Linked DNA regions of Homo sapiens: regions 2 and 3 are each linked to region 1. The links are contacts of gene promoters, found by promoter capture Hi-C in blood cells and fetal thymus (Javierre and others, 2016). All regions are on one chromosome and are shown on one strand. The core of a region is centred on a gene start or on the middle of the fragment in contact, and the rest is flanking DNA. Distances in the headings are between cores, read along the strand shown.

Region 1 (3,600 bases), core at 940-3,439:
AGAGTCTCACTATGTCGCCCAGGATGGAGTGCAGTGATCATGGCTCACTGCAGCCTCGAACTCCTGGGCTCAAGCAGTACTCCCACCTCAGCCTCCCAAGTAGCTGGGACTATATATATTAATTTTACCTCAGTTTCTTTTTTTAAGTCAACAGTGAGTAGGTCTGAGAGTGAGGATAGAAGCTTAGAGCCAACATGTCAAATACCTGGGTTGCAATTGCTCTTGAGAACTTTCTGCGGTTCTGGAGTGGCTCCCTTTGTCTCCTGATCCAGAGGCTGAGATCCTTTATTATTTTTTTTTAATTTTTATTAAGAGACATCGTTTCTTTGTGTCACCTAGGCTAGAGAGCAATGGCACAATCCTAGTTCACTGCAAGCTGAGATCCTTTATAGTAGGCCTGACCTCATGCTTTTGTCAGCTTAGAAACTAATCTTTCTGCCCAGTAGTAGCTTCCTTCTAGAAGCTAGATCCTTTTTAGCCTTGATGAACCCCTTGTTGTTAAAATGCACAATTCAAGCACAGGCGAATTTGCTAAACTTGCCTGCTGCTAATAGCATTTCATCTCCTTTGTGAGTAATCAGACATCAGTGCTCAGTGTCACGTGTCAGTGTCAGCGTGTCAGTGGCACGACCACAGATGTTTACCCATATTGTCATCATCATGTGGAAATAGAGAAGTTTCAGCTTTCAAAGGTGAAGTCATCTGTCTGATGCCACACAGTAATAAATCTGTGTATTTAATCTATGTTTCCAATGCCAGAGCTAATACTGTTCACCTCACACTAACCTGCTTTCAGAAAAATAATAGTGGATGTCAGGTAAGTTTATAGTTTGAGTGCCTTTTGGGAGGCCTCCTTGGAAATCCAAATATTCAGGGAAATAGTGCCTGAAATCCCACTCTTCCAGTTCAGTTCCTTTGGCCTGGCATTTAAGGCCCCCATTACCCCCGATCTAATCTCTCATTCTTACTGTTCGAAGATCCCTTCTATCTAGCTCTCTTTATTGCCAAACTGATGTTTCTGCTTCCCCCCATCACCTCACTCTGTTAGACTTTCCTGCCTCTCTGTCCAAGTTCATGACCTTGTCTCTACCTGGCAAACTCTAATAATTGCCAGCTGTAAATGCTTAACAGCTATTCGCTAGAAAAATTAATTTCTTTGCACTCAGCATTGCTCTAGGAATCTTCTTTTAAAATGCAAACATAATACACACATCAAGATAAGAAGCACGCACTCCATACTGTTTAAAACGACTGGGATGGGAGAAGGTTTTACCTTTTACATATTGCCCCCCTCCTTTTTCTGCAAATGGAGTAAAGAATAATAATTACTTTCATAATAATGGTACCTTTTAAAGATTCTTGGGAAGCTAACGCATTAAAGTGCTAACACTAAGATCTGAGGGTGAATGAGCTTGCTGATGTGCTTCCTAGTTTAGAATGGGAGAAGGCGCGTTGCACACTTTTGGAGAAGGGTCTGGGGAAACGTGAGGGGAGTGTGGGGCTGTAGGAGATATACTTCCTACATTTTACAATTAAGAGAGTGGAGAATAGGGAAATTGATGGAGGGGGTAATGGGTGGCGTTTCTGGAAAGCTTGTTAGCCGGAAACGAGTGTTGGAGAGTGACTTTAAAAAGCTGGAATATGACAACGACAACGAATCTTTATAGTGAGCCTGTTGTTTTCATAGTGTCTTTCATTCACTCAAATTATCTAATTAAAGCTTCACAGTGATCCTCTTAGGTTATTTCTCATCTTACAGATGTGCAAACTGAGGAGAAGGAAGTGTAAGGTCACGCCGCTGGTAGAGTTGGGGGCCAAATCCAGATCTGTTGGCTCTGGAAGCTGTAAATCAAACACAAAAAGGAAAAAGTCAAAGGCGGTCTGGAAGGCAAGCCTGGAAGGCACAGAAAAGAGAAGCGTCCTCATACTTTGTTCACTCTAAACCATTGATTCAGGGAGAGGGAAGCAGTCTGTGGCAAGTCGGAAGTGCGACGAGGACGAAGACTGGGTTTGGGTTGGGGAACCCCTGTCTGCTGAGCCCCTTCACTGCGGTCTCCTCTGCTTGCTCCGCGGAGCTCAGGAAACGCGGCTTGTTTTGGTCCCGCGCGGCCGCCGTAGAGTCCCCGTTGCCATGGCTCCTGAATTCCGACGGGGACGCGCTGAGGAGCAGGGGTGAAGGGTGAAAAGCGTCATTCGAGGTCCGGGTCCGGCTTGCGGGGTCAGCGAACTGGAGAGGCGCCATGGGCTGGAGTAAGCCCCCCTCCACCTTCCGTCCTCGATCGTTCCCCTTGTGGAAGTAGTCCCGGGTCTCGTGGGATCCTCGCCGCCCGCTCCCGCCCTGCGCTGTCGGTTCCCCCGCGCCTGGGCGGACCCTAACCCCACCCGGCCCTCCGCACCGCAGCCCCGGCTGCACCAGGTCCTCTGCAGACTGGCCGGACAGCCTGGCCTTTTCCAGCTCAGGTTCCTAATCTGTAAAATGGGCGGGGCCGTGGGAAGGGGAGGAAGAGGCAGAAAGGCACTGGACTCCAGGAAAGGGGTCGGGGAACGTGCAGGGGTTTTGGCGCCAGACACACCACGTTCCGGCCAAGTGGCTCCTTACTGGCTGTGAACGTGGGCCAGTCACTGTCTCCAAGCCGCAATCTTCGGACTCATTCCGGAAGGCAGTGTAGCCTAATGGTGGAGGGTTCCGACTCTGGAGCCAGGGTTGAAGTCCTCCCTCTTCCTGTGACTTTGAGCGAGTGACTTCACCCCTTGGGCCTCAGCTTCTTCATCTCCAAAATAATGGCAATCATACTACTGTTTTAGACACAGTAAGTGTTATAAACGTGTTTTTGTTTGTTTGTTTGAGACAAGAGTTTTGCTCTGTCGCCCAGGCTGGAGTGCAGCGGCGCGATCTCGGCCCACTGCAGCCTCCGCCTCCCGGGTTCAAGCAATTCTCCTGCCTCAGCCACCTGAGTAGCTGGGATTACAGCGTGCACCACCACGCCAGGCTAATTTTTGTATTCTTAGTAGAGACGGGGTTTTGCCATGTTGGCCAGGCTGGTCTCGAACTCCTGACCTCAGGTGATCCGCCCGCCTCGGCCTCTCAAAGTGCTGCGATTACAGGCGTGAGCCACTGCGCCCGGTAGTAAACGTGTTTCTTTAAGAATATACTAACAAACTGCAAGGTGATGCGGGTAAGTTATTTATATTGTATGAACCATTTTGATATCGACAACGTTTTTGAGCTCCCCATATGGCAGTTTTGTACAGCTCTACCTAATTGATCACTTATCATTGTAAAAATGTCATAATTAACTTTTTTTAAATCAAGAGACTGCTCCAGATGATGGGCTTTCTGCCCTGGAAGACCTGACAGCCTGCAAGTGGGAGAGGTGGGGGTCGGGGGGGAGTGATTTGTAAATGTTGAAACTCCTTTCCTAAATCAGCTACTGATATTTCTTCCTCTCTTCTCAGGGCTGTCTCCCCATCCCCTGGTCTCACCCTAGTTGGTTTTTTTCTTCTTCTCCTTCTCCTCCTCCTCCTTCTCCTCCTCCTTCTCCTCCTCCTCCTTCTCCTCCTCCTCCTTCTCCTTCTCCTCCTCCTCTTCCTCCTCCTTCT
Region 2 (3,500 bases), core at 695-3,194, 2.0 Mb before region 1:
TGCCCGCTTGGCCCTCTTCCAAGTTTACTTTACTTCGTTTCCTTTCCTGCTTGTCCTGAGGAAGGATCCTTCCTCAGATGAATTCTTTCCTTTGAGAAGCAAGAATCACGTTGCTGCGGACCCATATGAATTCCCCACTGTTAACAATTCCAGACCCCATGAAAGGAGGACTCTTGTCTGTTTCACTCACATTGTACCCACAGAGCCTAGGCAGTGCCTGGCACAACATGGGTCTTAAAGGAGAAGAATGAATTAATGGAATAAGTTAATGGAATAAGTCCACTAATTAATTCATTGATAGAATGAATGAATGAATTGAACGGATTAATGAACAGTTGACCGCCACACGGTAATTACTGAGTCCTGGCTCTCTGCTTCTTTCCCAACCCAGCCTGGCTTCACAGTGGTGAGCTGAAGGCAGAGCTTTTCCTGTTTATATGTGCATAGGACCAATGACTTAATTAACTTACCAAAAAGGGCTCTGGTTTGCCCATGCCACTTTCTTTAACTCCTATCTAGTTGCTTCGTTCATTCAATATGTATGGGAGGCCCACTTGATACAGTTTGGCTCTGTGTCCCCATCCAAATCTCACGTTGAATTGTAATCGCCAGTGTTGAGGGTGGGACCTGATGGGAGGTGATTAGATCGTGGCGGTGGATCCTTTGTGAATGGTTTGGCACCATACCTTTGCTGCTGTTCTTGTGATAGAGTTCTCATGAGATCTGGCTGTAGAAAAGCGTGTAGCACCTCTCCCCGTCCCTCTCTTGCTCCTACGCTGGCCATGTAATATGTGCCCATTCCCCCTTCATCTCCTGCCATGATTGTAAGTTTCCTGAGGCTTCCCCAGAAGCTGAGCAGATGCCAGTGCTATGCTTCCTGAACAGCCTGTGGAACCATGAGCCAATTCATCCTCTTTATAAATGGCCGAGTCTCAGATATTTCTTGAAAGCCGTCTGAGATCAGACTAATACACCACTCTTTGCCAGGCGCTTGAACTTGTGCCCTGAGGCAGCTTACAGTTCTGAGGGAGAAAGTAGTTAAACGAGCCATAACGATATGTGGGATGGGGCGGTACAGTGTGCCCAGGAAACGGGCAGGAAGGATGGTAGCCTTAATCTGCAGGGTTGGGGAAGCCTTCTCTGTGGAGGTTACCTCCAGCCCAGAGAGCTGGAGGGAGATCTGCAAAGAGGAGCAGGGGTAGGAGCAGATGGGGGGCTGTTTTCTCAAGCAAGGCCCCAGGGAGGGGCTTTAAAGAACCTGCAGAGGTGCAACTGCAACTGAGCTTGCGGTGGAGAGCACAGGTGGAGAGGTGAGCTTGGTTGCCAAGGACTTCCATGGGTGAGAACTGCTTGGACTTCAGTTCGCAAAGGGAGAAGCGCTTTAACTGGGGAGTGTGGGGTGAATTCCCCCACAGCCCATGGTAATCTTGACTCTGTAAGGGGAAGGGAGGCGAGTTTCTCCCCCTTGCTATAGACAGCTCCCCTTTGAGAGCTTCTAGCCTGCACTGTGTAACTTGACTGGCAGGTAACGTAACTGATAGAATGATACCCAGGGCAGGCTAAAGAGGTTCTGGGACTTTAAGTGACGAAACCAGGAAAGGCCCAGACCACCCGAGACCAGTTGGCCACCTACCAGCAGGGCTGCTGTTCAACCCATATACATGAGTTATGGCCATGGTGGTTATTATACTAACGAAATCTTTCCCTATTTAGTGATTTAGTAAATAGCACCTCTTTAAGCCCTGGCCCTGTGTCCCCATACTCTTGGCAGTATAGCCCACTGGCCCCAAACTCCTAGGACCTTCTTTCTCAGCTTCTAAAATTAAAGGAGTAACCCCTGGCACATCAGGGGCATGCGTTCTTTCTGATTAGCCAGTGTCCATGCTGTATCTATTGACAAATGTCACCCTGGGTCACCTGTGTTCCATTGTCCTTCCTTCTGCTATGCCTTGACTGGGCTTGGAGCTCACTGCATCTCCCTGCCTCTCAAGATGCCTACCCAATAATTTACAGGGCAGCTGCCATCACCCTCCAAGATGGTGACCAATGCACAGTCCCAAAGTTTCTTTACATGTCCACCCTCTGGAGTTCCTATGCAGATGGCACCTGAGCCTGCTTATAGAAACTGGCATAAGATTCTGCATCAAGAGATGCCCACCAAATGCCACCCCTGACTCCTAAGAATGGAAGTGAATCAAGTCTAGCTCTAAAGTGTAAAAGCAGCTGCGTAGGTTTTTGTCCACGTAGATAGCTTGAGGCAGCATAATGAAAGAAACTAATCCATCACCTCTTTTATGTGAGACATTGTTTTTAAACAATAGGCAATATATGAGATTTCCATGGACACTTTATTTTCAGGGTTATCAGTTTTCTCTCAGCTGTTACAGCAGCATTTCTCTCTGAGCCAGTTACTGCGGGAACTTCATAAATGTGCTTCTGAAGAAGGGTTCTGCTTGTCCACCCTGTTACAGGTTGAAATGTGTGTTCGTCAAGTTGTTCCTCATGCAGGAGGTTAGGGAGGTGACTGATCCCAGAGGCTCAGCCCCCCATGGTCCCAGTACAGTGAAGGGGTCCTCAAGGGGTGTCTTCAGGTTGGCTTCAGACAAGGGGAGACTCTGGCAGGAAACCAGGAGGGCAGGAGCGGAGTACGGTCTGGGCATTTATTCCTCAGTCTCCTTCTCTAAGTCGCAGAGTATTGGTGGTCCGTCTTGCTGAAGGTGGACTCCTCTGCACAGGCCCTGTCCTGGCCCTGGGTTCCAGCGGGCACTCCCTCCGCATGCCTGCAGGCCTGGGGTGAGGCGAGGTTGCAGAAGGGCTGCATCATTCCTCTCTGACCTCCCAAAACCCTGCCCACACCTTTGTAAAGAGCCCCTTCATTAAATGCTCCTCCAATTGCCCAGCTTGAGGATGCCCTCTGCCTCCCGCTGGAGGCCTGGCTGCCAAGGAGCTGAGGTGGAGCGATGTGATAAGAGGGAGGTCCCAGGCGATCCTGGGGGATGGGGATGCTGACAGTGCTGCCTGCAGTCAGGCAGCTCACAGGAATCCCTGTTACTCCAGGGATTGGAGCAGTGTTCACGTCTGTTTCTCAAGGCCTGTGTACTATTTTTCTGTGACTGCTGTAACGAATACCACAGACTGGGTGGCTTAAGCAACAGGAATTTATGTCCTCACCATTCTGGTGGCTAGAAGTCCAAGATCAAGGTGTCAGCAGGGTTGGGTTCATTCTGAGGCCTCTCTTGTAGAAGGTGGCTCGTAGATGGCCACCTTTTCTCTGTGTCTTCTGTGTGTCTCTGTCCTAATTTCCACTTTTGGAATATGACCCTGGCCATGTTGGATTAGAGTCCACTCATGACCTCCCTTTACCTTAATAACCTCTTTAAAGGCCCTTTCTCCAAATGCAGTCACATTTGGAAGTATTGGGGGTCAGGATTTCAACATACGAGTTAAGGGGGGCACAGTTCAGTCAATAACACGTTGTAAGCCCCTCAAGGTCGAGGACA
Region 3 (3,714 bases), core at 344-2,843, 2.2 Mb before region 1:
AACGGAAAGCTCACTCAGCATGCTGCAGTCTTTCATACTGATTTTGACATAAAACATCAGGCGGAAATTCCACTTCTGACTCTGCAGTAATTGTGGAGGAGCCAGAGGGCCATCCAAACACAGATGTCTGGCATGACGCTGCACACCTCACGAGGTCACAGGACAGACATTGCAGAGAGATCGTGATGATCATGCATAAAGGAGAGCCCACCATCTTCAGGGCGCAACTCATTCATTCTTCCTCCTTCATTGTTCCGGAGTTACTGTGAATAGTCAAGATTATTGTTTCAGACTTTTTCCAATGTCTTGACTTACAATGGCGAGAAAGATGTTGATGCTGGTAATAATAGTAAAAATGGTGAAAGTTTTTCCAGAGTTTCAAATGATGGAACTCTGCATCCTACTATTGTGTAGCATGTGTGAGTACGTGTGTGTGTGTGTGTGTGTATGTGAGTACGTGAGTGTCTGTGTGATTCAACATATGTATGTGTGTATTGATTCCTCCTGAGTAGCCCCCCCCAACCCTTTTTTTTTTTAACTAAGTATGTCAGCTTCTGGAACTGCACATAACAGTTTTCCAGCAGTGACACTCATGCATAGCACAGCCATCAAAGACCTGGAAGCCATGTAATACAGCTGACCTTTGAACTAGGGGAACAACCCCTGTATGCGCAGTCAAAACTCCCAAGCATAACTTTTGAATCCCCAAAAACATAACCATTAGTAGCCTACTGTTAACCAGAAGCCTTACTGATAACATAAACAGTCGATTAACCCATATTTTGTTATATGTATTATATACTGTGTTCTTATAATAAAGTAAGCCAGAGAAAATAACATTAATGAAAAAATCGTAAGGAAGAGAAAATATATTTCCTCTTCATTAAGTGGAAGTGGATCATCATAAAGCTCTCCATCCTCATCATCTTCATGTTGAGTAGGATGAGGAAGAGGAGAAAGAGGAGAGGTTGGTTGTACTGTCAGCAATGGCAGAGGCAGAAGAAAATCCAAGTATAGCAGCTCAACGAAGTTCAAACCGGGTGGTTCAAGGGTCAACTGTAAAGACTACTAGAGGCAGAGGCTCACTTAATTGCATGTTCAGAAATTAAGAGTTTAACATTATTAGAATATGCAAAGGCATACAGAGTGACATAATGGACTTTATATCACTTTATATCATTTATATATAATGGACTCAGAAGCAAGAGGGTGGGAGTGGGGAGCCAGGGATAAAAACACTACACATTAGGTACAATGTACACTACTTGGGTGATGGGAGCACTGAAATCTCAGAATTCATCACTATATAACTCATCCATGTAGCCAAAAATGACTTGTATCCTAAAAGCTATTGAAAAAAAAGAATTTAAAATTGTTAGTATGAGCAGCTCCACAAATTTGGGGTGCAAATATGGTCATATTATTTACTTTTCCAATTAATTCATTGAGTAAAGCTTGCTGCTATAACAACAACAAACAAACAAATTTTCAGTTATTTCTCGCTCATATAACCATCTAAATTAGATGTTTCTGGTTGGAGGGCAGCTTTCCTCTACAGAATGATCCAGGGCTCAAAGCATAATTATACTCTTTTCTGGCCAGTGGGGTCTTGCACCCACTCTACTAAGGTAGCTTTCCCTAGGGCTCCCAGGAGACTCCTAACAAAGCCAACTTAACTTTCTGTTACCTCTTCTGATAACGCCAGGAGGAAAAAAATTATGTAAAAGCTTTATATTCACTGAGGCATCCTACTATATTGAATTGTCTGAAATGAAAGAACATTTCATCTCCAGATTTTAATAGATGATTGTCTATGAAATAAAGAGGATTTAGAGGCCAGGCACGGTGGGTCATGCCTGTAATACCAGCACTTTGGGAGGCTGAGGCAGGCAAATCACTTGAGGTCAAGAGTTCGAGACCAGCATGGCCAACATGGTGAAACCCCATCTCTACTAAAAATACAAAATTAACCAGACATGGTGGCAGGCACCTGTAATCCCAGCTACTCAGGAGGCTGAGGTAGGAGAAGTGCTTGAACCCTGGAGGTGGAGGTGGCAGTGAGCCGAGATCGTGCCACTACACTCCAGCCTGGGCAACAGAGCCAGATTCCATCTCTAAAAAAGAGGATATAGAGGACATCTTCATATTATAAAATGGCATAAACTGAAAAAAACATAAACATAAGCTGATATTTTAAAGAAATCAGTTAATGGTGTTTCTAAGATTTGTAGTTGGTGCTCAATACATTTATAGAACCAGGCTTTTGAATCATGCCTGAAACTTAGCAGCTCAATTGTCATTTTTTAGAATAAATGAATGGTAATGACATCAGTCTAATAAGCATTTTGAAACATGCGCAAATCTTTAGATATAAAATTTGTACATTAAAATAAGTTTTTGAGATGACAATTGGTAGATATCCCACAAATGTTTATTTCTATTATCGAAGATATCATCAGGATAATTTAGATTGCCAAAGTAGACAGAGACATGCCATGTACATGTCACTCAGGACTGCTACATATGTTCATAGAGGTTGAGCACTGCACAGTCCCAGAGGATGCCATTCACAGACTCCCATGCAAATAGCTTCCCTGGGTTTGTGCAGTGCATACTGTGCATGCAGCTGCCTAATTTGAATACATCAGTCCTAACAGGCCGTAAGGGTAGTGCAGCTGATTCACCTTGTTCATCACCAGGACTGATTGAGCTGGTCTGGCTGAGTACTGCGTTCTCACTTCATGTCCCCACTGCTTCCTCGTTTACCACCTCCTCCCACAAGCTTACGTTCTCGGAAAGATATTGGCCTTCCCTGATAGAAGCACCCTCCTGTCAAGGATGTGCTTATAACCTCACCTGAGCCCATGCACACTCCAGAGGACCCTCAGTAATCCTGGAGCAGGAGAGCCCCTAAAATGGGAACTGAATGTTCTTTCTCTCTTAGTAATAAGGTACTTAAACACACACACACAGTGGCATTTTTTTTAATCCAACTTTTTGAGGATTGCCTATTAAATACCAAGAGACATCTTAGCTCTCTGTTAATTCACAATGTCACTAATTCAAAGATGTTCTCATTGTTTAGCCTCCAAAAAAAGCCTTAGATGGGTCCTTCAGATCCCAATGGCCAATTTTAAACATCTTATCCTTATATGTTCAATATTTATATTTTAAAACATAAAATGTAAGTTCTAAGTCTGTCTATAGAGTCTGGGGTGTGTTGGAAGTTGGGATAGATGGGCCTAAGATGAAGCAAAAAGACCAGTTAGGAAGCAGGTTTTGGTAAGAGTCCAGGTGAGAGATACAAGGGGTTACCCTAAGGTAGTGACCAAGGGCGTGGAAGACAGTTAATCGCTCTCACTACCATTTAAGAGGAAGACTTTATGGGACTTGAAGACTGACAAATAAAGATAAGGATAAACTGCAAATAACTTCAAGATCATGCTACTGGGCATTTGCTCGTGCCATAGTATGACGAGGGATGAAAGGACTAGGTATGGTGAGGACTTGCACATGGAGAGAGTTAAACAGCATATCAAGAGGGGAACAATACTGGATGCAAGCATACCACCAGGCTTTCCATTTTTGTGCCAAATTAGACAAAGGGACAAATAGTACAAGTTCAAAGTAAGCAAACGCTGTTTGATTTCAAAATTCCTCTTTGAGCAACATCACTTACCTACCTTGGAGTAATCTGTCTCTCATTCTTAACAA

The links. Contacts are between HindIII fragments. The CHiCAGO score rates a contact against its expected background, and 5 or more counts as called.
Region 2: a contact is called between a fragment that was not itself captured here and the fragment with the promoter of DNAAF11 in region 1, in 1 of 17 cell types (monocytes). The highest score is 5.9, in monocytes.
Region 3: a fragment that was not itself captured here is called in contact with the fragment with the promoter of DNAAF11 in region 1 in 1 of 17 cell types (total CD8 T cells); the score reaches 5.7 in total CD8 T cells.

Annotation. Positions count from the first base shown.
Region 1 is chr8:132,674,134-132,677,733 of GRCh38, reverse strand. DNAAF11 (dynein axonemal assembly factor 11) reads left to right here and starts at 2,189. Exons shown (of 12, transcript NM_012472.6): 1 at 2,189-2,250. The coding sequence starts at 2,241. LOC105375767 (a long non-coding RNA gene) reads right to left here and starts at 2,104. Exons shown (of 2, transcript XR_928665.4): 1 at 1,929-2,104; 2 at 1,676-1,842. The HindIII fragment of the contact is 7,589 bases long and covers 1,723-3,600 here.
Region 2 is chr8:134,722,740-134,726,239 of GRCh38, reverse strand. LOC124902072 (a long non-coding RNA gene) reads right to left here. Exons shown (of 2, transcript XR_007061187.1): 2 at 2,330-2,788. It also overlaps a transcript of ZFAT not described here. Among named protein-coding and RNA genes, the nearest start is that of ZFAT, 11 kb to the right of the region's middle. The HindIII fragment of the contact is 7,755 bases long and covers 1-3,500 here.
Region 3 is chr8:134,834,457-134,838,170 of GRCh38, reverse strand. NCRNA00250 (non-protein coding RNA 250) reads right to left here and starts at 102. Exons shown (of 3, transcript NR_126028.1): 1 at 1-102. The HindIII fragment of the contact is 273 bases long and covers 1,457-1,729 here.